Regions from separate parts of the Homo sapiens genome. Here regions 2 and 3 are each linked to region 1. Evidence: promoter capture Hi-C in 16 types of primary human blood cells and fetal thymus (Javierre and others, 2016). All regions are on one chromosome and are shown on one strand. The core of a region is centred on a gene start or on the middle of the fragment in contact, and the rest is flanking DNA. Distances in the headings are between cores, read along the strand shown.

The links. The method cuts DNA at HindIII sites, captures the fragments that hold promoters and counts their contacts. A CHiCAGO score of 5 or more calls a contact.
Region 2: a contact is called between a fragment that was not itself captured here and the fragment with the promoter of CALHM6 in region 1, in 1 of 17 cell types (monocytes). The highest score is 5.6, in monocytes.
Region 3: a fragment that was not itself captured here is called in contact with the fragment with the promoter of CALHM6 in region 1 in 1 of 17 cell types (total B cells); the score reaches 5.2 in total B cells.

The regions. Positions count from the first base shown.
Region 1 is chr6:116,458,752-116,462,624 of GRCh38, reverse strand. CALHM6 (calcium homeostasis modulator family member 6) reads right to left here and starts at 1,250. Exons shown (of 3, transcript NM_001010919.3): 1 at 1,196-1,250; 2 at 171-753. The coding sequence starts at 695. CALHM6-AS1 (CALHM6 antisense RNA 1) reads left to right here. Exons shown (of 2, transcript NR_174951.1): 2 at 1,431-2,147. RefSeq lists a silencer at 185-264 and enhancers at 645-724, 735-844. The HindIII fragment of the contact is 9,761 bases long and covers 1-3,873 here.
Region 2 is chr6:116,102,063-116,105,957 of GRCh38, reverse strand. All of the region lies in intron 1 of NT5DC1 (5'-nucleotidase domain containing 1), which reads right to left. Among named protein-coding and RNA genes, the nearest start is that of NT5DC1, 3.2 kb to the right of the region's middle. RefSeq lists an enhancer at 2,863-2,932. The HindIII fragment of the contact is 3,268 bases long and covers 18-3,285 here.
Region 3 is chr6:116,015,403-116,019,436 of GRCh38, reverse strand. All of the region lies in intron 1 of FRK (fyn related Src family tyrosine kinase), which reads left to right. Among named protein-coding and RNA genes, the nearest start is that of FRK, 43 kb to the left of the region's middle. The HindIII fragment of the contact is 867 bases long and covers 1,464-2,330 here.

The sequences.
Region 1 (3,873 bases), core at 1-2,500:
TTTTATTCAGATATTCTCTTGACGGCAAATTAGATGCAAGGAGCCATTCTAGATTTTCTTAGGGTACTGTATATCTGGAGAAAAGTCACCGATTTTTCCCTCACCCCAGCGGCCCTGAGAAAGCTCGGCCTCTCGGCTCCTCCCAAACGCCCCCAGCGCCAGCGGCAGACCTGCGACTGAGCCTTCAGATCCTTCAGGAGGTCCTGCACGTCCGACGCCTTGGCCTGGTTGCACGGCACCAGCGGCAGCTCCGCGGCGCAGCTGCGGTTGCGGCCGAGGCACAGGCGCTGCGCGAAGGCCGCGCTCCCGGTGGCCGCGCACTCGTAAAAGGCGCCCCCGAGCAGCGCCACGGCCACCCAGGTGAGGGGCGCGAGCGCGGCGGCCGCGCTGATTTGCGTGCACACCAGGGAGCCGCGCAGCGCCGATCCGCAACTCGCGCGGGCGCTGGAGCAGCATCCGGTGAGCAGGCGCCACGTGCGTGCGCTCAGCACGTAGCCCAGGAGGAAGAGCGCGAGCGCCGGCACCAGCAAGAAGACCAGGCCGTAGGGCAGGTTCCAGGCGGCGCTGCACGGGCACTGGAATGCCACGGCGGAGAAGATGCGCTCCCCGCCCGCCGTCAGCAGGGTCACCAGGCCGTAGCCCAAGGCGCTGTGGTGCTTGACGTGCAGGTCCAGCACCGCCCGAAACTTCTCCATGAGCCTCGTCCCCCGGGGCGTCGCGCACAGGCCCAGATCCTTCTGCCTCTTCGTTGTCCTGCTTGTCAAATGGTTTTGGTGGGATGGGGACCGGGGCTTTCCACTCTGCGAGAAGCAGCCTTTTTTTTTTTTTTTTTAAAGGGAAGAGGGCTTCTCAGACCTTCCTAAAGTTTCACTTTCTCATTTCAGCCACACCACCTCTGGTTAACAGAACCAGGCAAGCAAACACCCCCAGGACCTTGACTTCTCTGGCACCCACCCCATTCCAAAGGCAGAGGCACCAGTTATCTTCCTCCCCCAATTCAGGAACTCTGACAGAAGGTTGACCTTGTTCCTTTATTACCACCAATCTGACAACGAACCAGGAAACTAACCTTCTTGACCCACGGCCGCCAGTTGGAAAAACTGGGAAATACCAGATTTTCCTCTATTGCAGCCACCCTAGTTACTAAGCCAGATCACAGTAAAACCAAATAATTATCAAAAAACTGATTACTTACGGGAAACATTATTCAAGGACAAATTTCTGGTTCCTCTTCCATAAGCTAAATCAGCAAAGTCCAGCTCAAGTTCTGGTACTTCTATGATGGGCGGCACCCTTTCCATCTCCCTACCGGACAGAGCCACCAGCCTAGTTCACACTGACTCTTCTCTCCTCTGCCTGATCTCCTTCAGGACATTAGACCAAATATACTGTATTGATTTACTCGTCAATACAATGTTCTTTTCTTTCAGATATGTCATAACACTGTCAATGCCTGGAGGAGAGTAAAATTCTGACTCTGACCACCAAGCTGATCTGCACAGAAGGGGATACATGATTATTCAAAGAATGCTAGTTGAACCCAAAATTTCAAACTGCAGCTACATCTATCTAATGTTGTTTCCTCCACCTTCAGTTTTCTCAAGCAGCGTTGTTCTGACACAAACACTGTAACCACTTTTGTGATATTGAGCCTTACTCTGTGTGACTCCAGACTGAGCTGAGGTGTGCTTGAAAGAACATGGGCTTTGAAGTCAAGTGCATCTTGTCTGTGGTGTGTTTAACAAGTATGCCCCTCTGAGACACAGCATCCTTATTTGTAAAAGAAGGATAATAGTGCCCACTTTTCAAGATTACTGACATGAGTAGATTGAGTAGCATATGTAAAGTGCCTTTACATATAGGATATGTCTGTTAAATGAATGATCAGTGTGAGAGTTTTCCCCTTAAAATGCAATTTGGGGAATAGACAACAAATAATTACATTGTACATAACCTAAGAATCTTGATGAATACTGAATTTTGAATTTTAAACGAGGATCAATTCAGTGGATAGTATTAAGTGACTCAATGACTCTGCTACCTTAAGAGAATTGGTGTACACCTTAGCTGTCTGCTTCACCACAAGGAGAGTATCTGGATATGGAGCTTGGGTGGGCAGTTCACAATGAAATGGTTCTTATTGGTGCCCATCCACCAGGCTTGCCTTATTTTATCTGGAAAGAATAGGTAGCCCATGGAACCAAGTGAATTTTTAGAGAATGGACAAGAAATGTATTATTCTTTTCTTAGTCCAACTTGCCTTCTTAACTACTCCCTCTCCAACACCACCAGCAGGGTGCCTAGCGTAGTGCCAAAAGCTGTCATTCCATAGTGATGTGGTAAATAGACATCTTTTTTCTATGTGTTTAGGGGCCAGCCCCAGATGAGGGTCTTCATGGTCATGCAGGAAAGTTGGGGCCCTCTTCTCTGAGATTAGACCAGATACTGCTAGGCTTCCTGTCAACTTGCAGCAAAGTTGCGTGTTTGAAGCGAATCACTTCTGCTCTGACTGTTATCTTTGTAATTTGTCATCTCCCAAGATAAATTTCTTCCCCTGTGCCTTGAGTAACTCTCCTCTTACTGCTGGACTCTTCTTCACCTCTACCATAATACTCTAAGATGTGTCCTCTCTCGTCCACCCTTTCCCATATTCCATCATGCAGAAACATCACTATATCCACAACCTTTGTGCAGATGGCTTTATCCAAATCTCCCCTAACCGAAACCTAATAAAAATGCATCCTTCTGTCTTCTTGAGTGAGATTAATTTATTCTCCCACATCTCTCAAACCAAGAGGGATGGCTGGCATTTTCCTGGTTACCTGCTGATAGCCATACCAGGGTTTTACCACTGTGCTATAATAGTTTATCATCCACTGAGGCTCAATCTAATCAGCACCATCTCCTCCTTCACCTCATTCCTATGGTCTGTTTTCATTCCCTTCATTTTTTAAGACTCTAATGAAGTCCATCACCTTCTCTTCCCTGGCTTCTGTTATTTAGTCAAGGATTTGTTTGAAATATGTTTACTTACAGAAACTTTTATCTATCAGCCCCCTTCCCCAACTAGATTAATTCATTTGTTAACCAGTTATTAATTAGTTCATTTGTTCATTCAGTCATTCATTTAAATGTTTAATAAGTACTCAGAATATGTCAAGTACCTATCAAAAGTGCCTGGTATTGCTGGATACAACAAGGAAGAAGACACAGGTATCCTGCCGTCTTTGAACTTACAGTAGAGATGATATAGGAAATGGAGAGGAGGGGTCCTAAAGATTACGCACAGGATAAATTGGAGTTAGAGAGTGTCCTGAAAGAGCCTCTGTGAGAAACTGACATTTAATCTGAATGAGTCTGGAGTACAAAGGAGCTTGGTTAGAAAGAAGGCTAGAGTGATGGGAGCATTGAGAATGACAGGCAAGTTGGCACATCATGAGGCCAAAGCTGCAAGTGGAAGGTCAGGTTTAGGTGCTTCACAGACCAGAATATGTAGTCTGCAATTCTGCCTCTGAAACTTTCACAGACTGAGCTGCATCCTGACATATTGTCTTGTCAGCTTGTGTCTCTAAACACCACCTCCTGGGTTTGCTACTTCTGTGCTCTCCCAAACCCAACTCTCCCAGATGCAATGATCATTCAGAACTTAGTACAGGTTTCTATAATTGAGAGTCCAGGTTTTGCCTGCCAGCCTGAATGTTTCCCCAGCACTTGGTCTTGAGTCTAGTACCCTGCCATCCACTCCCACCACCACTGGATTGACTGGTTCTAGCTCTGGGTCTATTGAAGATTCCCAGCCCTCCATACCCAGGTCTGTTCTGAGAGGATATTGCTCAGAAGTTCAGCCCTTAGTGGAAATTGACTAACACCCTA
Region 2 (3,895 bases), core at 402-2,901, 360 kb after region 1:
TAAGACTTGACAAAGCTTTTTAAACTTATTTAATACATCACTAAGATGATAAAGATGATGACCACTCTATCCATCCATCCTTGGTCCATTCTGGCCAGAAAGGCCCCATGTCAGGGAAATACATATGGGGACCAGGAAGGTGATCTAAACAAGTCATGATGCCTCTATCAGATACAGGTAATCACTCTTGTTTCTCCACACACACATACACAAAAACCATTAAAAAAAAAAAATCTAAAGACAAAGGACAAAGAAAGCCTCTGGAAGCAAGTACAATAATTACAATAATAAATACTCTGTTGATTGCTGACAGATCTTATTTCTCAACAACAAAAAATGCTAGGTTTTTGAGTAAAATATCTGGTTTTTAAGTGCTGGCTAACTTTAAAAGAACTGTACATACCAAACAAAAAGTGCACAAAAGGTAGATGGTCCAACCTTATTCTACCTCGAAGTGTTCTTTGGCCAGTGTTGGGTAAACTTGAGCCTGAGCAGAACAGTTGTCTGAGTCAACCTGCACAGTGTCCAAAAGGACACACTGAACAATCTGACCCTTCTTCTACAGATATTAACCCACAACAGGTTTCGATAACATGTCATACTTTTAGGGAGAAGAGGGAGGCAGAGGAGCAGGGGAAATCTCTCCTGGGTAGTGAGGTTTACACTGATACTTAGATGCAGCAGTTCGCTGGGTGAATGCAGAGGGAATGGGGGGCAACTCAGGTTCAGAAACTGAGGGGCCTGCACACAGCTGGAGTAGGGGTGTCGGGGTCTGAGTGTCAGGATATGAGCATGGAGAAAGCAAAGGCTCCTTGTGAAATGTCAAATCGAGTTGCTCCCTGTCATAAAGCTAATTAAAATCACTACACATGTACTTCCATCCAGTGCAATGTGACCTTATCCAGGTCAACTGTTAATTGAACCACATTATGTTAACACTATATATCAACAGTTCTTAACCCTGGTGGTGATTCAGAACCATAGGTGACACTTCTTAAAACTACCCAGAGCTTCCAAGCATACAGGGTAGAGAGGGCCCTCTCTGAAGCACAGAGAACACTGAAAATCACTGACCTGCATGTTTTACAGATTTTTATTCAATCATTAAAAGGAAAAAAGCAACAAAAAATACACTGAGTCACCCTGTGGTACAAAGTACTATGGACAATAAAAAGTCCACATCACGATCCTGCTTATAAGAAACCAGTGCTGCAGGGCTAACAGATGTAAAATGCTTAGAGCAGAGCCTGGCACACCAGCAAATCCAATTTAAGTATTTGCTATTATTATGTTGTATGCTGCTAAAAACAAAACAAAACAAAACAAAAAAACAGAAAACAAAAACACTGCCCTGACAGGTAGCGCTTGCCCATCTCCACGGTGTAAATATTCCCACCATGGCCTGTTTCAAGTCACCAACAGCAGTTTACCTGCTTGCACAATTCCTGAATAGTTAACAATTGGCTTTCACAAGCCCCTAAGAGCCAGCTATTGTACACCTTAGATTTGCCTCTCATTGAGGCACTTTTGAGTTTCTCCAGTTATTCAAGTGATTAGTCTAAGATATGGGCATGTAATTCTAAAACACTTGAATTCTCCTGGAAGAAAGGAGCCCTTTCCATCAGAGACGCCAACAGGGACAGCAACAGCTGTGTTCCTTACCTTGTGGAGGAGATTTTTCTGTAACAGGAGAGAAGGGGGCCAATGGACAAGGAAAAGAAGCAGAGAAAAGCAGTGTGAAGAAAAGCAGGGGCATCTGTACTCTGAAACCCCTGGTCTAGGCAGAAGGCTTCTTGCAGTTTGTCCTTAGAGTACGCTGAGTCTCTCTAGAAGCCTTCATGGCACAGGGCTCTCCATGACATTCCTCCCCCAGCCTTAGCTATCACCACCTCACAGTCTCTCAGGAGTAATAATAATACACGTTCTACTGCAGTTGCCAATTGGTACCCTGTGGTCCATATGCAGCCTACAAATTATGTTTGGTTCCCACTTAAGGTTGCCAGATAAAATTTAAAAATGCCTAGGTAAATGTGACTTTCAAATAAAAAACAAATAATTTTTTTTTAGTATAAGCATGCAATATTTGGGACCCCACTCTCCCACTCACACATCTACGTTAACTGACTGGTATCAGACTTCTGAGTCTGCAACCTTAGAGAGGAGAAACCATGTGTCATCCTCTCTTCTAGAATGCCTTTCCTGAGGCCTCATGTGAGGGGGACACACTCAGTTCTGTGTTTGCACAACTCTGTGCAGTTGTTAAATGCCTACAAAACTGAAAGGAGACGCACTCACAGCTCTCCATGATGCAGCCCCCACTGACTTCTCCACCATCTTCTCCTGCAACTTGCCACCTTTTGCTTGCACCCAGCAGTTCCCGGTGCTGTTGCTCACCTCGAGGTTCTGACCTTTACTCTAACTCCTCTGGGTGAAGCACTCCTCTCCACCTCCTCACCTGCCAGCTCCCGGCCTTTCCTCTGTGTTTTCGGGCACCATACAGACAGCAAGGTGGGAAGAAGCAGAAATCCACAGCCGGACTACCTCGCTTAGTTGCCCTGGATACACTTTCCTTCTGTGCCCCGTTGCTTGATGCTCTCTTAACAGTGACTAAATCACTGTTAAGTGATTAAACAGTGGTGATAATATCTACCTCACAGGGACGTTGTAAGGATTAAATCCATTCATATAAGCAGCATGCTTATTAGAATCATGGCTGTATCATATTCTGTTATTAAAATACCTATTATCTATTCAGTCTATTTATTGAGTCCAGTATGTGCCCAGCACTAAGCTCGGCACACAGAACACACAAGAAACTGTCACAGATACTGATGGAGTCATCACGCTGGGCTCTAGGGGAAGTCCAACAAGTAAACAGGAAGTGTTAATATCATGCAGCATGTGCTATGAGGAATGAAGGGTTTTGTGGAAAACTGAAGGTGGGCTTAGAATGGAAGGGCAAACTTTAAGGGCCAAAAAGACTTCCTAAGGGGAACGATGTTTAAGATGAGGCCTGATGGGATGAAGAGCTTCTGTGCAGAGCAAAGAGGCCCTCCAGGCACTGTTGGCAGCGTGAAGCAAGACCCAGGTCATACTACCCACCACAAGGGACCAAGACTAACTCTTCAGCATTTTTGCCTACTGTGTAAGGCTGCCTGGAGGCCTGCGTGTTGATCTCTGTATCCTCAGCTCTAGCATGGTGCTCAGCACACTGTGGGACTTAAAATAAAAAAGATTTCCACACCAAACATGATCCAAAACTCAATAGGTTACTGTTTTCAAGCTTTAAACATCACTTATTCTCCAGGTTTGCAGTAAAAAAACCTCTTGTCTTTGAGAATCTTATATTCTGAAATTTTATGATCACCTATGGACAACACTAGCTCTAACATGACAGTGGTTTAACAATATTACCTCCAAATGAAGGTAACTAAAGAGGAGACACACAAAACTGTGAACCAGGAAGGATTCGAAAGACACAGAGGGAAGGAAAACATGTATCAAAGACCTAGGGGAAGCAGTGGCCAAAGAATCAAGCAGTAAAAAAGCCTTCTTAATTCTCAATGTGACTAAGGAAACCAGACCTGTAAGGTAAGAAAGCAGGAAAGTGTAACAGCAGAAAAAGGACATTTAAAAAAAAATTTAGCATCTGGGCATAGAAAACACACGAGAAATTCGGGCAGCCACTCTTTTTTGACCTTTAACGTGTACCTGAACTGGTGGGTGCAGGAACTGGCGGGTGCCCATAATGGGGCACAACCCTGGCTGATGTCTGCACCAGTGATCTAGAGTTCTACCCATAAACTGTGAGGTTTCCAAATAGTTTGGGTGGTAACCATAAAAGCAAACACTTGTCTTTGCCAAGGTACTATTCTAAGCATTATACATCTCTTAC
Region 3 (4,034 bases), core at 648-3,147, 440 kb after region 1:
AAGTGGACTTGTTCTTTTGCTCTCTGTACCAAATCTTCAGTATATTCTCTCTATATTCTTGTCCTACGTTTTGAAATTATTTGGTCAGCTTTTTAACTTTCAAGTGGAAGACTCACATCCTCAAATAATCATCTGTTTATTCATTCAACAGTATGAATGCAAGTTTATTTAATACCATGTGTTGTGCTAGGCTCTTGGAATTTCAGTGATAAGTAAAAGATAAGGTTTCCACTCTCTTGAGCTTACATGTGTAATGGGAAGTAGGAATTAATCAAATAATACCAAAAACAAAGTAAGCTAAGGAAAGAGCTATGAAGGAAAGGAACAAGGTGCTCAGACTCATTTGATCTGTAGAGGAAGGCTTTCCTACCACAAGCCCCTTGCCTTGCCATCCAAAGAATGCACTGGAGATAAGTCAGAGGGGAGCTGGCTTGTGCAATGAATCTATTATCATTCACCTTCAGAGAAATATGCTCCTCAAGCTTACTTGAAGCTCTAATTCTAAGGCTTTAGGATGTTCCTTTACTGTGCCCTCTTTCCAACAGCAGGTCTCTTCAAATCTATAAGATTTTAAAATCCTTTCCTGGGTCACAGTGAACAGGTCAGATTTTATTATGCTCTGAGTATTTCAATGATTAAAAAAAAATTATCCCAGGCAAAGAGCATGGTGGAAATGTCTTTGTATCACTAAAATTCTGGAATAAAATTTTATTTAATTGCAATATGCTTACTAGTAAGGCAGTCATTGAGGCAGGGAATATTTCAGTTTCTCAAAACACATATTTGTATATAAATAGTTTACATGCTATTTACAAATAATATTTCCATTGTGTATTATTAGAGTATATCCTCTTATGAAAACACTTTGTAAGAGAGCAAACATTTTAGTCTACTTCAAGACACTTATAATTTTAATAAACTGAATTATTTAAAACACAAATATAACTGGAAGGACTCTGCCTTTCACCCTTACCCCAGGGTATAGGCTTGTTCTGGACAGCGAGAGGATGCATAATTCTGTTGCTACCATCTGCTATGGATAATGGTGTGAGAAGAGCTTTGCCTAAGGATTTGATGTGCTAAAGAAAATTCTGTTTTCAAAGCTCTGGCTGTTTGTGCTGCTGAGAATAAAGACATGGAATAGATGGGCCTTAATTGAGCAGAACAATTTAAGAAGTGCTGGGGTATACAGAGGGAGACCCAGAATCTAGTTTGGAGTAAGGGTTGGGTAGGAAATCAAACTGCTTTGCATACAGAAACATGGAGAATTTTGTTGTAAAATCCCTGGCACAGAGAAAGGAGGAAGAGGAGTGGTTCCTCAGCAACCTATTAGGGGGCCCTAGACATAAGGGAAAAAGTTTTGGGAAATTCCCTCTTCAGCAGAAAGGACATTAAATTTCAATGAACAGAAATTTCTGGTATCTGTTTGAACTTGTTTTCTGCTCTGTATTGTACTTAAAGCTTTGCTCTTCACAAATTTTATACAGCATTTGGATTGAATTTGTAATGTTTTGTAAGGGTTGAAAATAAAGAAGTGGGGTCCAGTGTGAGGCAGTGTGAGGCAGAGTGGACTGGAGAGAAAAAGGTGCAAGGTGGGCTATGGCAGGATGACTCAGGATTTAGGAGAAGATGTTAAGAGAAAGTCCCCCTCTTCTAGAAACAGCTGTGTTTTTCAAATTGTAGTACCTTGGTTACCTGCCTCTGAATTGCCTGTGGCACTTGGGAACCTACAGCATCCTGAGCTCTACCTCCGACCTTCTTAGACTATTTGCCTTGTACACACTTCCTGGGACAGTCTTCAGAAACTGGAGTTTGAGAACTGAGGCCCTAGAGAAGGTTAATCCTTAGGTAGTGATAAAAGAAAAACCTCGACAAATTAAACTTAGCAGAGTTTAACTGGGCAAAGAACTGTTGGCAAATCAGGCAGTCTCCTGAGCCAGAGTGTGCTCAGACAGAGTCCAGCTGGTGGAAAGGGACTTATGGAGAGAAAAAGAAAAGCGATGTAGAAAAATTGAAAAGAGGTACAGAAACAGCTGGATTGGTTACAGCTCGGTGTTTGCCTTATTTTGAACAGGGTTTGAACAGTTGGCCACCTTTGGTTGCTCAAAACTTGGTGATTGGCACAAGAGTAGGTTACAGTCTGTTTGCACATCCATTTAGGTTGCAGTTCACTGTGTACAGAGAAACCTTTAGGCTGAACTTAAAACGTGTAAGGAGACAGCTTTCTGCTTGATTTAACAGTAACACGGGTGTGTGTTGGGAGGTAGGGAGGTGGGGGCTCTTTCTTCTCTCAGTCTGCCTTTTTCCACAACAGTTCTGAGGAGTAAGCTTGTAATGTATTTGTGCAACTGCTTCTTTCTGTAATTCTAAGCAGGAGCAAGCAGTAAACTAATTTTCAGATTTCAGAAAAGTCCATCAGTGCAGGCAGAGCCTTCCTTTTGTTTCCTGACAAATAGTTTGTTGACACTGAAAACAAAAGATGTGTTTTCTGGCACTGTTTCAGGCTTTCTTTTTGAGAACAAGCTGCTCTGTGGATGTGTTCAGTTTCTACTATTTCAAAGTCCAGTGGGTGGCATTTACATGGGTTTTAAACTATCTTTAGTTATTAACATTGGTGTTATTATTGGTAATTATTCATGATAGTAATGCTTAGTGAGTATCTGGGTATACAGGGCTAAATTATTAAAAAGAAAGAAAGAAAGAAAGAATGAAGGAAGAAAGAAAGAGAACGTGTGTGCTTGTTCTGACCTGTAGCAGACCAGGTCTCACACCTTGACTCCCTGGGGGCACCTGCTTCATTTTAATCCCCCCAAAGCAGTAAAACTAGTACATATCTGTACATCCATGTTGGTATCTGCAGCTACACACACACACACAAACACACACACACATCCATCCACTCATTCACATATATGTGTGTGTGTCTCTGTGTCATGTATGGATTAAGATTAGACAGTATAGTTTTTAAAATTATTTTTTATTGGTACATAAAAGATGTACATATTCTCTGGGTACATGTGATAATTTGATACATTAATATAATCTGAATTGGAATATCCATTACCTTAACTATTTCTCTTTTCTTCATGCTAGGAACATTCAAATAAGGAACAGTAGATTAATGTTAACTATAGTCAACCTACTATAGAGATTGTGCTCTGCTGTACTTTGGCCTCCTTTAGCCACAGCTGGAGCTGGAGCAGCTGAGACATAGGGCACCAAGTCCAGAAGGTGCACAGAGCAGCAGGACCCTGTACCCAGCCCATGAGACCATTTTTCTCTTTTAGGCCTCTGGACCTGTGATGGGAGGGGCTGCCATGAAGATCTCTGGCATGCCTTGGAGACATTTTCTTCATTGTCTTGGCTATTAACATTTGGCCCCTGGTCACTTAAGCAAATTTCTGCAACTGGGTTGAATTGCTCCCCAGAAAATGGGCTTTTCTTTTCTACCACATGATCAGGCTGCAAATTTTCCAAACTTTTATGCTCTGCTTCCCTGATAAATAAAAGTTCCAGTTTCAGATAATCTCTTGGTGAATGCATATGACTGACTGCTTTCAGAATCAGCCAGGTCACATCTTGGATGCTTCACTGCTTAGAAATCTCTTCTGCTAGATACCCTAAATCATCTCTGTCAAGTTCACAATTCCACAGATCACTAGGGCAGGGACAAAATGCCACCAGTCTCTTTGCCAAAGCATAGCATGAGTGACCTTTACTCCAGTTCCCAATAACTTCCTCATTTCTATCTGAGACCAACTGAGCCTGGAATTCATTGTCCATATTACTATCAGCATTTTGATCAAAACTGTTCAACAAGTGTCTAGGAAGTTCCAAACTTTCCTACATATTCCTGTCTTCTTCTGAGCCCTCCAAACTGTCCAACATCTGCCTGTTACCTAGTTCCAAAGTTGCTTCCACATTTTCAGTTTTTCTTTATAGCAGTGCCCCACTCTACTGCTATCAATTTTCTGTATTAGTCCGTTCTCACACAGCTATAAAGATATTACCTGAGACTGGATAATTTATGAAGA